Linked DNA regions of Homo sapiens: region 2 is linked to region 1. Evidence: promoter capture Hi-C in 16 types of primary human blood cells and fetal thymus (Javierre and others, 2016). All regions are on one chromosome and are shown on one strand. Each heading gives the region's core, a stretch centred on a gene start or on the middle of the fragment in contact. The rest is flanking DNA. Distances are from core to core; before and after follow the strand shown.

Evidence for each region. Contacts are between HindIII fragments. The CHiCAGO score rates a contact against its expected background, and 5 or more counts as called.
Region 2: a fragment that was not itself captured here is called in contact with the fragment with the promoter of WDR33 in region 1 in 5 of 17 cell types (naive B cells, total B cells, naive CD8 T cells and 2 more); the score reaches 8.8 in naive B cells.

What each region holds. Positions count from the first base shown.
Region 1 is chr2:127,808,059-127,813,090 of GRCh38, forward strand. It overlaps WDR33 (WD repeat domain 33), which reads right to left and starts at 3,113. Exons shown (of 22, transcript NM_018383.5): 1 at 2,954-3,113. LOC124907885 (a long non-coding RNA gene) reads left to right here and starts at 3,193. Exons shown (of 2, transcript XR_007087230.1): 1 at 3,193-4,085; 2 at 4,454-5,032. RefSeq lists enhancers at 1,188-2,095, 2,178-3,118, 2,525-2,604, 2,685-2,764, 2,785-3,074 and 1 more. The HindIII fragment of the contact is 7,008 bases long and covers 1,057-5,032 here.
Region 2 is chr2:127,588,600-127,593,398 of GRCh38, forward strand. MYO7B (myosin VIIB) reads left to right here. Exons shown (of 48, transcript NM_001393586.1): 16 at 1,493-1,630; 17 at 4,195-4,347. Among named protein-coding and RNA genes, the nearest start is that of MYO7B-AS1, 40 kb to the right of the region's middle. The HindIII fragment of the contact is 8,153 bases long and covers 1-4,799 here.

The DNA of each region.
Region 1 (5,032 bases), core at 1,863-4,362:
TAGCAGAGAAAGGAGTGATTAACTTATCAGAGGAATGAGATTGTCAGTAAATTTCAACAAAGATATTTGAGTTAATGTTTAAAACTGAAAATGATGTCACCAATTAAATTCATCACAGAAAGAAAAAAAATGTTAACATTTAAAGAATGCCTACTATATATGAGGCACTTTTTACCTTTAGGTTTTATAGTTAACATTCTTATATACAAAGAAACTGAAGCTTAGAGAGTTTAATTAACTGACCCAATATAAAAAAGGTAGTTAATGGTGAGCCTGGCATTCAAACCTAGGTCCATTTGCTGCTGAAACCCATACATGCCCTTTCCAATACTACCTAGCTCTGGGAATTTATAAGCACACAAATCATGAGTACAAGATACAATACAACTTTAGAAAGTCAGTCACTACCAGAAAATTAGTAAAATGTTTAAGGGCCAGACAGATGAGAGTAGCACTGCTCAGATTTTCCAATACACTGAAGAGCTTCAGTCTCTAGGACTAATGTAAATGGTTTGAAATGGGGAGATAAATGTTACCAAAGAAAAATCATTTTCAGCAGAGCGCGGTGGCTCATGCCTGTAATCCCAGCACTTTGGGAGGCCCAGACAGGTGGATCATTTGAGGTCAGGAGTTTGAGACCAGCCTGGCCAACATGGTGAAACCCCGCCTCTACTAAAAAATACAAAAATTGGCCAGGTGCGGTGGCTCACGCCTGTAATCCCAGCACTTTGGGAGGCCGAGATGGGCGGATCACGAGGTCAGGAGATCGAGACCATCCTAGCTAACACGGTGAAATCCCGTCTCTACTAAAAATACAAAAAATTAGCCGGACGCGGTGGCGGGCGCCTATAGTCCCAGCTACTCGGGAGGCTCAGGCAGGAGAATGGCGTGAACCCGGGAGGCGGAGCTTGCAGCGAGCCAAAGATCGCGCCACTGCACTCCAGCCTGGGCGACAGAGCGAAACTCTTGTCTCAAAAAAAAAAAAAAAAAAAAAAGAATTCCAGAAACACATTTATAAGTGAAAATTTTTCACTAATATCTTTGTCGTAATCATAAAGCTTTTCTGTAACCTTACTATCCTATTCTGAAATATGAAGCAGTTCAAACTTCAGCCATAATCAAATAATATTCCACCGCAAAGTAATGGGAAAAGTATATGAACTTATTACTTAGCAAAGAGAGCTCTGAATAAATACCTTAAGTGCTTAGTAAAAATATAATTAAAGCCTTACGTCAATATAAAACCGTGATGGCAAAATCTGTTTAGTATTTTTCACCAACCAAAGAAAATTATCCAAGTTAAGCCATCAGCTTCACAGATAAACATTTATTTTTGTCTAAACCATTGTAATATATGTAAGCCAAATTCCTTTTTTTTTTTTTTTTTTTTTTTTTGAGACGGAGTCTCGCTCTGTTGCCCAGGCTAGAGTGCAATGGCGCGATCTTGGCTCACTGCAACCTCTGCCTCCGGGGTTCAAGTGATTCTCTTGCCTCAGCCTCCCGAGTAGCTGGGATTACAGGCGCCCACCACCACACCCAGCTAATTTTTGTATTTTTAGTAGAGACGGGGTTCCGCCATGTTGGTCAGGCTGGTCTCGAACTCCTGACCTCAGGTGATCCGCCCACCCTGGCGTCCCAAAGTGCTGGGATTACAGGCGTGAGCCACCGCGCCCGGCCATAAGCCAACTTTCTACCAAAATTCTTCCTAGGAGTACAGGAAAGACAAGTTAAAATTTCTCCCCAAGTTTCAAGAAGATAGTCTAAATATGGAACTTCAAGTCTCAGCAAAAACTCAAATCTATACAATATTTTATCTTCTCCCGGTCAAGGAGACAAAAAAAGCAAAAGTATCTTACAGTAATAAAAAATGGGTAAAATGCAATTAAGGCGAGGAAATGAAAAATGCCACAAGAGGTACAACTAGCATAACTGTCACTAAAAGGTTTGAATTAAGTAGGTTTACCACTGCACCATATTCACAGGCTATATATACATACACACACACATATATACACATATATATGTATATATAGCATGCATTAGCTCTCCAGAGTGTACTAAAAAAGTAAAGTCTACGCTCCCCAGAGTTGTTCCTTTCAGTGCAGGCTTTTTGTTCATATTCTAATGTCTTCCAAAGTTCCTGAACAGTCAACTTAAGATCATGTGTGTAGAAACTACTTTAAAACATTCTTGACAGGCTTTCTACAAGTAGCCCGTATTTTTCTGATTTGATTTAAATAGATCCAATTACGGAATTCCCTACCGACCTGCCGCCGCCGCCTCCTCCTTACTCCGGAAGGGGCCACTAATCCCAAGGGTTACAACCAAGTACAAACATTCATTGTCATTTCTTTTAAGAAGGCATGCTAAGATCCTCACTACTTAGTTGCCAGAAGACAACTTAAAATCAGAAACAGGGATCTAGCACAAACCAAATAGAAATACAACTATTCCAAAAAAGCAGGGCTTTGCCTGTCAAGCTGTAGCCTCATCCTTATAATAAGCACCGATTTCAAGCCACGATAACATCACGGCTAAGTCTTCAGCTGTTTTGCAGATTTCACGTTAACTTCCCTTGACCCTTTCAACCAACTACTTCAACTCGGCCCACTTCTTTCCACTCCCGCCCCAAACCTCAGTTAAAATGCATTTCCCTCCAAACTTCACGTCTTAACTGTGGCCTGACTTACGTCTTCTCGTCGCCACCGCTCCCAGTCAGGGCCTTAGTTCTAACCATGGCCGCTTTTCCCGGTTGGCCTCCAGCCTCCAGCCCCCTCCCATAAGTCTCGAACCTGCCTCGAACAGCCGCCCCGAGGTCGATTCTCCCAGTTCCTCCAACCTGTGCCCAGGCGCCCGTCCAGGCCCCCAAAGCACGCAACGGCCGAGCCCGAAAATGGCGGAGAGTGCCGCTGCCTGCTGCAGGCGAGCAGTCCCGTGTCGCCGCCGCACTCACCGTCTGGCTTTGAGCAGAGCTCCTAAATGGCCAGCGAAGCGTTCGCCTTCAGAGCCAGAAATGTCTCTCTTGTTTGGTCTCCCCACCCCGATCCTCTCAATCCCGCTCCTCCAAAGGAGCAGCCGCCATCTTCCCCTATGGGCCACCGAACGCACGCTCTGGGGTCATCACGCACTGGCGGGACGGCGCTACGTCACGCGCGCCTGGACCGCGGGCCTCTGTGAGGTTCGATCTGCGCATGTGCCTAGGTGAGGTGCCGAGCCGCGAGACCCTGCAGAGCGCTTCCTTTGTTCCGGAGCGAGTAGGACGCGCTACCTCCTGGAGGAAAGAAGCGACTGCGTTTCGCAGTGCTGACTTTTTTTTACAGTGTGAGCTAACGTGTATGCTCTGAAAAACACCCCGTTTTCCAGTATGTGAATGAGTATATTTGTACGGGGCCAGTACGGCAGACATAGCGGGTCGTTGGACCGAGCCCACCGAGAGTGGATCTGTGGGAAGCCACTGTGGCACCTTGCTGAGTCTGTTCACCCGTGCAGCTAGCTGGTGGCAGCCCTGGCAGATCCCGGCACACAGTCAGGCTCCACGCCTTACCCGAGCCAGTTGTGCCTCTAGATTACGCCTCGCTTAAAGTCCAGCGACCAAGATAGAAAAACAGCCCCACGATGCAACCATTTTGGAAAACCGCTGCAGTTTCTGCCAAAGCTAAATGTACGCTTACCTTGTGACCCCAGAAATTTCACTTCAAGAGGAATGAGTGCATACGTCCACCAAAGGCATGTGCAAGAATGTCCATAGCACGTTTATTCGTAGTAGTAAAAAACTGGTAACCTAAATGTCCATCAGCAGTTGAGTGGCTAAATTGTGGTGTATCATACAGTGGATTTCTACAGAGAAATAGGAAGTTACGGATAAACGCAACAGCCTGAACGAATAGCAGCTACTGTTAACTTAGGCACAAAGAAGAGGACGCTGTATGATTCCATTTTGATGAGGTTCAAAATATAACTGCACAGCAAGTTGTTCTCCAGTATGAATCAGGAATCGTACCAGCCTGGGGAACATGGCGAGATCCCATCTTTGCGCGTCGGGGTGCGTTCCTGTGACCGCCTTCCTGTGATCGTTCCTGTGATGGGTACTTGGGAGACTGGGGTGGGAGGATCACTTGAGCCCAGGAGTTGGAGGGCGCAGTGAGCCAAGATCGTGCCAGTGCACTTAAGTCTTGGAAGCAGAGTAAGACCCTGTCTCAAAGAAGTCTTACTTTTGACTCCATAATCCCCTTCCAAAAATCTATTCTAAGGATAGCCTCAGAGATGTGAGTAAGATTTGTGTACTAATCTTTGAGGTATTAATGATAGCAAAAAAAAAAGGAAACAGTAGCAGACAGTGATTAAATAATGGCACATCCATACGTAGACTATCATGCAGACATTACACAGTATCTAAAGTTTTTATGATAACATCAGAAATGTTTATAAACTTCTATATTTTTTCTTTTTTTAGAGACAAGGTCTCTCACCCAGGGTGATCATAACTCACTGCAGCCTCAACCTCCCGGGCTCAAGTGATCCTCTCACCTCAGCCTCCCTAGTAGCTCAGACTAATGACCTGTACCAGGACACCCATACCCAGCTAATTTTAGTAGAGACTGTCAGGCCTCAGAGCCCAAGCTAAGCCATCATATCCCCAGTGACTTGCACGTATACATCCAGATGGCCTGAAGCAACTGAAGATCCACAAAAGTGAAAATAGCCTTAACTGATGACATTCCACCATTGTAATTTGTTTCTGCCCCACCCTAACTGATCAATGTACTTTGTAATTTCCCCGACCCTTAAGAAGGTTCTTTATAATTCTCCCACCCTTGAGAATGTACTTTGTGAGATCCACCCCCTGCCCACAAAACATTGCTCCAAACTCCAATGCCTATCCCAAAACCTGTAAGAACTAATGATAATCCCACCACCCTTTGCTGACTCTCTTTTCGGACTCAGCCCACCTGCACCCAGGTGAAATAAACAGCCTTGTTGCTCACACAAAGCCTGTTTGGTGGTCTCTTCACACGGACACGTGAGACAGAGA
Region 2 (4,799 bases), core at 281-2,780, 220 kb before region 1:
ACAGGGCCAGACAGACATGTACAGGAAAGACTGTTTTACTCACCTCTGGGTCCACAGCATGCAGTTGGCACTTGGGAATCCTGCAATGGATGGATGGATGGGTGAATGGATGGGTGGGTGGATAGATGGGTGAGTGGGTGGATGGGTAGTGGGTGGGTGGATGGGTGAGTGGATGGATGGGTGGTGGGTGGGTGGATGGATGGGTGGGTGGATGGATGGGTGGGTGAGTGGATGGGTGGATGGGTGTGTGAGGGTGGATGGGTAAATGGATGTGTGGTTGGTTGGTTGGATGGATGGATGGATGAGTGGATGGATGGGTGAGTGGATGGACGGGTGAATGGGTGGTTGGGTGGATAGATGGGTGAGTGGGTGGATGGGTAGTGGATGGGTGGATGGATGGGTGAGTGAGTGGATGGGTGGTGGGTGGGTGGATGGATGGGTGGGTGAGTGGATGGGTGGATGGGTATGTAAGTGGATGGGTGAATGGGTGTGTCGATGGTTGGGTGGATGGGTGAGTGGGTGAATGGATAGATGGATGGGTGGGTGGCTGTGTGGATGGGTGAGTGGATGGACGGGTGGGTGGGTGGATGGGTGAATGGATGGGTGGATGGGTGAGTGGGTGGATGGATAGATGGACGGGCAGGTGGCTGTGTGGGTGGGTGAGTGGATGGATGGGTGGGTGGATGGGTGGGTGGGTGGATGGATAGATGGATGGGTGGGTGGCTGTGTGGATGGGTGAGTGGATGGATGGATGGGTGGGTGGAATGGTGAATGAATGGGTGCATGGGTGGGTGCATGTGGCAGCTTATATAAGGGGGTTTGGAGTGGGAATGGGAATCTGGGGGGTCCAGAGTTTAGATAGGAGAAGTGACTTTGTGCTGGGTAGATGGTGGGGGCCACGCCTGGGTAGAGGGGTGGAGAGCATGGCCTTAGTGGGGCCATGGGTGGATGGGTGAGTGGGTGGATGGGTGGTGAGTAGGTGGATGGATGGGTGAGTGGGTGGATGGGTGGTGCGTGGGTGGATGGATGAGTGGGTGCATGGGTGAATGGATGGGTGAATGGGTGGGTGGATGGGTGGGTGGGTGGATGGGTGAGAGGGTGGATGGATAGATGGATGGGCGGGTGGCTATGTGGGTTGGTGAGTGGATGGAAGGATGGATGGGTGGGTGGGTGGGTGAATGGATGGACGCATGGGTGGGTGGGTGGATGGGTGCTGGGTAGGTGGAAGGATGGGTGAGTGGGTGGATGGGTGGTGGGCGGGTGGATGGGTGGGTGGGTGGATGGATAGGTGTGTGAGTGGATGGGTGAAGGGGTGGGTGGATGGGTGAGTGGGTGGATGGATACATGGATGGGTGGGTGGGTGGATTCTTGAATAGGTAGATGCACCACCCCACCTGTGGGGCCTTGGCCGCAACCCTTGCTGGCCTACAGGGTCAGCTGTCCCAGGACATGGCTCCTGAGACCCACTTGTGCTCTGTGCTTCCATTCACAGTCTGCAGACTCAAATAAACGGCCCTCCACCTTAGGAAGCCAGTTCAAACAGTCTCTGGACCAGCTGATGAAAATCCTGACCAACTGCCAGCCTTACTTCATCCGCTGCATCAAACCTAATGAGTACAAGAAGCCGCTGGTAATGACAGGAGGCTGGGGCACAGCAAAGGAGGGAGGAGGAGGAGGCTGATGGCCTCTAGGGTTGTGGTCACTCCCTCTGCCAGGGCCTGGCTAGCGTTAGAGCTGTTACTGCCCCTACCTTACAGATAAGTACACTGGGGTAAGGTGACCAGACTAGGTCATGTGAAGGTCAGTGACCTGCAGAGCTTTGGGTTGCTGAGACCTCAGTTCCCTTAGCTCCGCCATGCATCTTCTGTGCGTTCTTGGCCTGGCTCTTTGCTGCTGTGAGCCTCAGTTTTCCCTTCTGTTAAGTCAGACTTGCTCCTGCCTGCAGGAATGCACTGAGGGTTGGACATGAGGTTTGCAGTACATGTCCCATATGTAAACCACACTCAACAAAGGCAGAAATCAGTAATAGGACTTTAGAGGCTGACACCACTCCTTTCACCAGCCCTGCAGACAGTCAGCTTTACCTGCTGTGAGACGGTGAGGGGGTGAGAGCCCACACTCCCTGCCCACAACGGAGTCCCTGCTCCATTGGGTGGGGAGTCCCACCCAGAGGCCGCATATGCAGGGATTCCCCAAACTAGGAGACATCAGCTGAAACAATATAAAATGGTTTTATCCCCATAAGGGAATAAAAATATTACATGAAATTAAATGCTTTTTGGAAAGAATAAAACTATGTGAAATCGAGTTTGATCTGGGTGCAGTAGCTCACGCTTGTAATCCCAGCACTTTGGGAGGCTGAGGCGGGAGGATTGCTTGAGGCAAGCCTGGGCAACATAGTAAGACCTTATCTCTGCAAAAAAATTTAAAAGTATAAAAATTAGCTAGGTATGGTGGTATGTGCCTGTAGTCTCAGCTACTCAGGAGGCTGAGGGAGGAGGATCACTTGAGCCCAGGAGGTCAAGGCTGCAGTGAACTATGATCACACCACTGCACTTCAGCCTGGGTGACAGAGCAAGACCTGTCTCTAAAAAAATAAAATGAGGCTTGCCTTATGAAATCTAGGTTGCATCTTCCTTGAAGGCAAAATAGGCAGATGTGAGATAACCTATCTTGTTCCTTAACTGCTGGGAGAAGTAGCTGGGCTCCCAGAGACCCTTGGCTCGTTCAGACCCTGCCTACCTTGGGAGCTGGGAGTTGCAGGACAGGCAGGCAGGCCTGAGGCTGAAGCTCGGGGGTTAAGAGTGCCTCTGGCTGGGATATCTCTCATTGGTGGCTGCTCAGGGTTCAAACCCAGGCTCAGCCCCTTAGAAGCAAAACCCTATGCCTCAGCACCTCATCTTTAAGTTGGAGCCAATCACCCCCACCAGGTAGGAATGTTGTAAAGATTCAGTGAGAAACACCAGGCCCATAGGAAATCGTCAGTGAAGCGCAGCTAAACACTTACCCGAGGCTAAGCTCAGTGTGGCCTGGACCCCACCAGCAGTTGGCGCTGTGACCCTGCAGGTGGGGTAACAGTGCCTGCTGGTGGGTTTGCCACATCAGAGGGCGTTCCCCAGGGTCCCTCAGAGACTCCTGGCTTGTAGGTGGAGAGGGGCTCTCTAGAATCCAAGCCATGGCAGAGTCTTGGAACCCCTGCTGAAGCCTGACACCCCAGGGAAGGACATCATGCCATTTCTCTGCCAGTCACACTCGCCTCAAAGCAAAAGACGGCTCAGCTCCCTGGGGCCAAAGGCCCTCCACTCCTCCGCCCCAGCCACTCCAGGTCTCACTCTGACCTCCATCTCCAGGGAGGGAGAGACTAAGTTGATTAGGATATTTTCTGCCTCTGAGTAGATTTATTTTTTCATTTAACTATTGTGAGGGAGGCACCATGAAACTGCAAGTGCCTGCGGGGCAGCTTTCCACCCCGACCTATGTAGGCAAGGGGCGCTTAAAAACATTTTAAACTGGGCCAGGCGCGGTGGCTCAGGCCTGTAATCCCAGCACTCTGGGACGCCAAGGCGGGCGGATCATTTGAGCTCAGGAGTTGGAGACCAGCCTGGCCAACATGGTGAAACTCCGTCTTTAACTAAAAATACAAAACTTACCCGGGCGTGGTGCTACACGCCTGTAATCCCAGCTACTCGGGAGGCTGAGGCAGGAGAATCGCTTGCACCCAGGAGGCAGAGGTTGCAGTGAGCAGAGATCGTGCCACTGCACTCCAGCCTGAGCGACAGAACGAGACTCCATCTCAAAAAAATAAATAAATAAAATTTAAAAAATTTTTTTAAAAAAAGCATTTTAAACTGGGCATGTGCAGAGGACGTTTACATTCACAGCGCTTCGAGTAGTTGACAGTGATGGGAGTGCTGTGTTTCTGTGGGTGCCACAGTTTCCATGCTATCGACTTTTATCTCCTTGACAACATTACGGGTTTTTCAACTACTTGCACTACTCTCTTCAAAATGTAGCCTTACTGAAGTCGCATTTGTTTAGTTCTTCCATCTCTGGAGGACAGTGGGGGTGGGCGGGGCGGGGGGCTGGACACACTGACCTCTGGCTGTGGGCCCGTGCCCGGTGGTGGGGTGCCGGGAAGGGGGGTGGCTGGAAAGTGGGGCTTGCGCTGGGTCAGCGCCCGGTGTCCGCCCACAGCTGTTCGACCGGGAGCTGTGCCTGCGGCAGCTGCGATACTCGGGCATGATGGAGACCGTGCACATCCGCAAGTCGGGCTTCCCCATCCGCTACACGTTCGAGGAGTTCTCGCAGAGGTTCGGCGTGTTGCTGCCCAACGCCATGCGGATGCAGGTCAGCGCCCCTCGGGGACGGTCACCTCTGGCCATCCGCGGCCTTCCCCTCGGCCTTGGCACCTCCAGCCCCCAGTACCGAGGGGGTCTCCCGCTGCCCTCCCCGGCCCCAGCCTTGCGATGAGCCCTGTCCTTCCTCCCTCTCTCCTCCTCCCACCCTACCCTCTCCCTCTCCCAGCGCCGCGGAAGTGAGGGGGCTTTCCCTGGGGTCTGGGAGAGCTGGCGGCCGCAGCGGTTCCTTCTGGAACATGTCTGTAGTTGTACAGCAGACACGTTCTCTCCTACCGCGTCAGGGAGCCGAGGTGTGGCTAGAAAGCTACTGGGGCCCGAGGTTCTTCCTGTCCTGTCTGGAACCCTCAGCCATCCTGAGGCTGGGCCTGGCCTGGGCCGAGTCCCACAGCACATGGAGGCCCCGGGCCCCGAGTTCCCTCCTCACCCCAACCCCTATTCGAG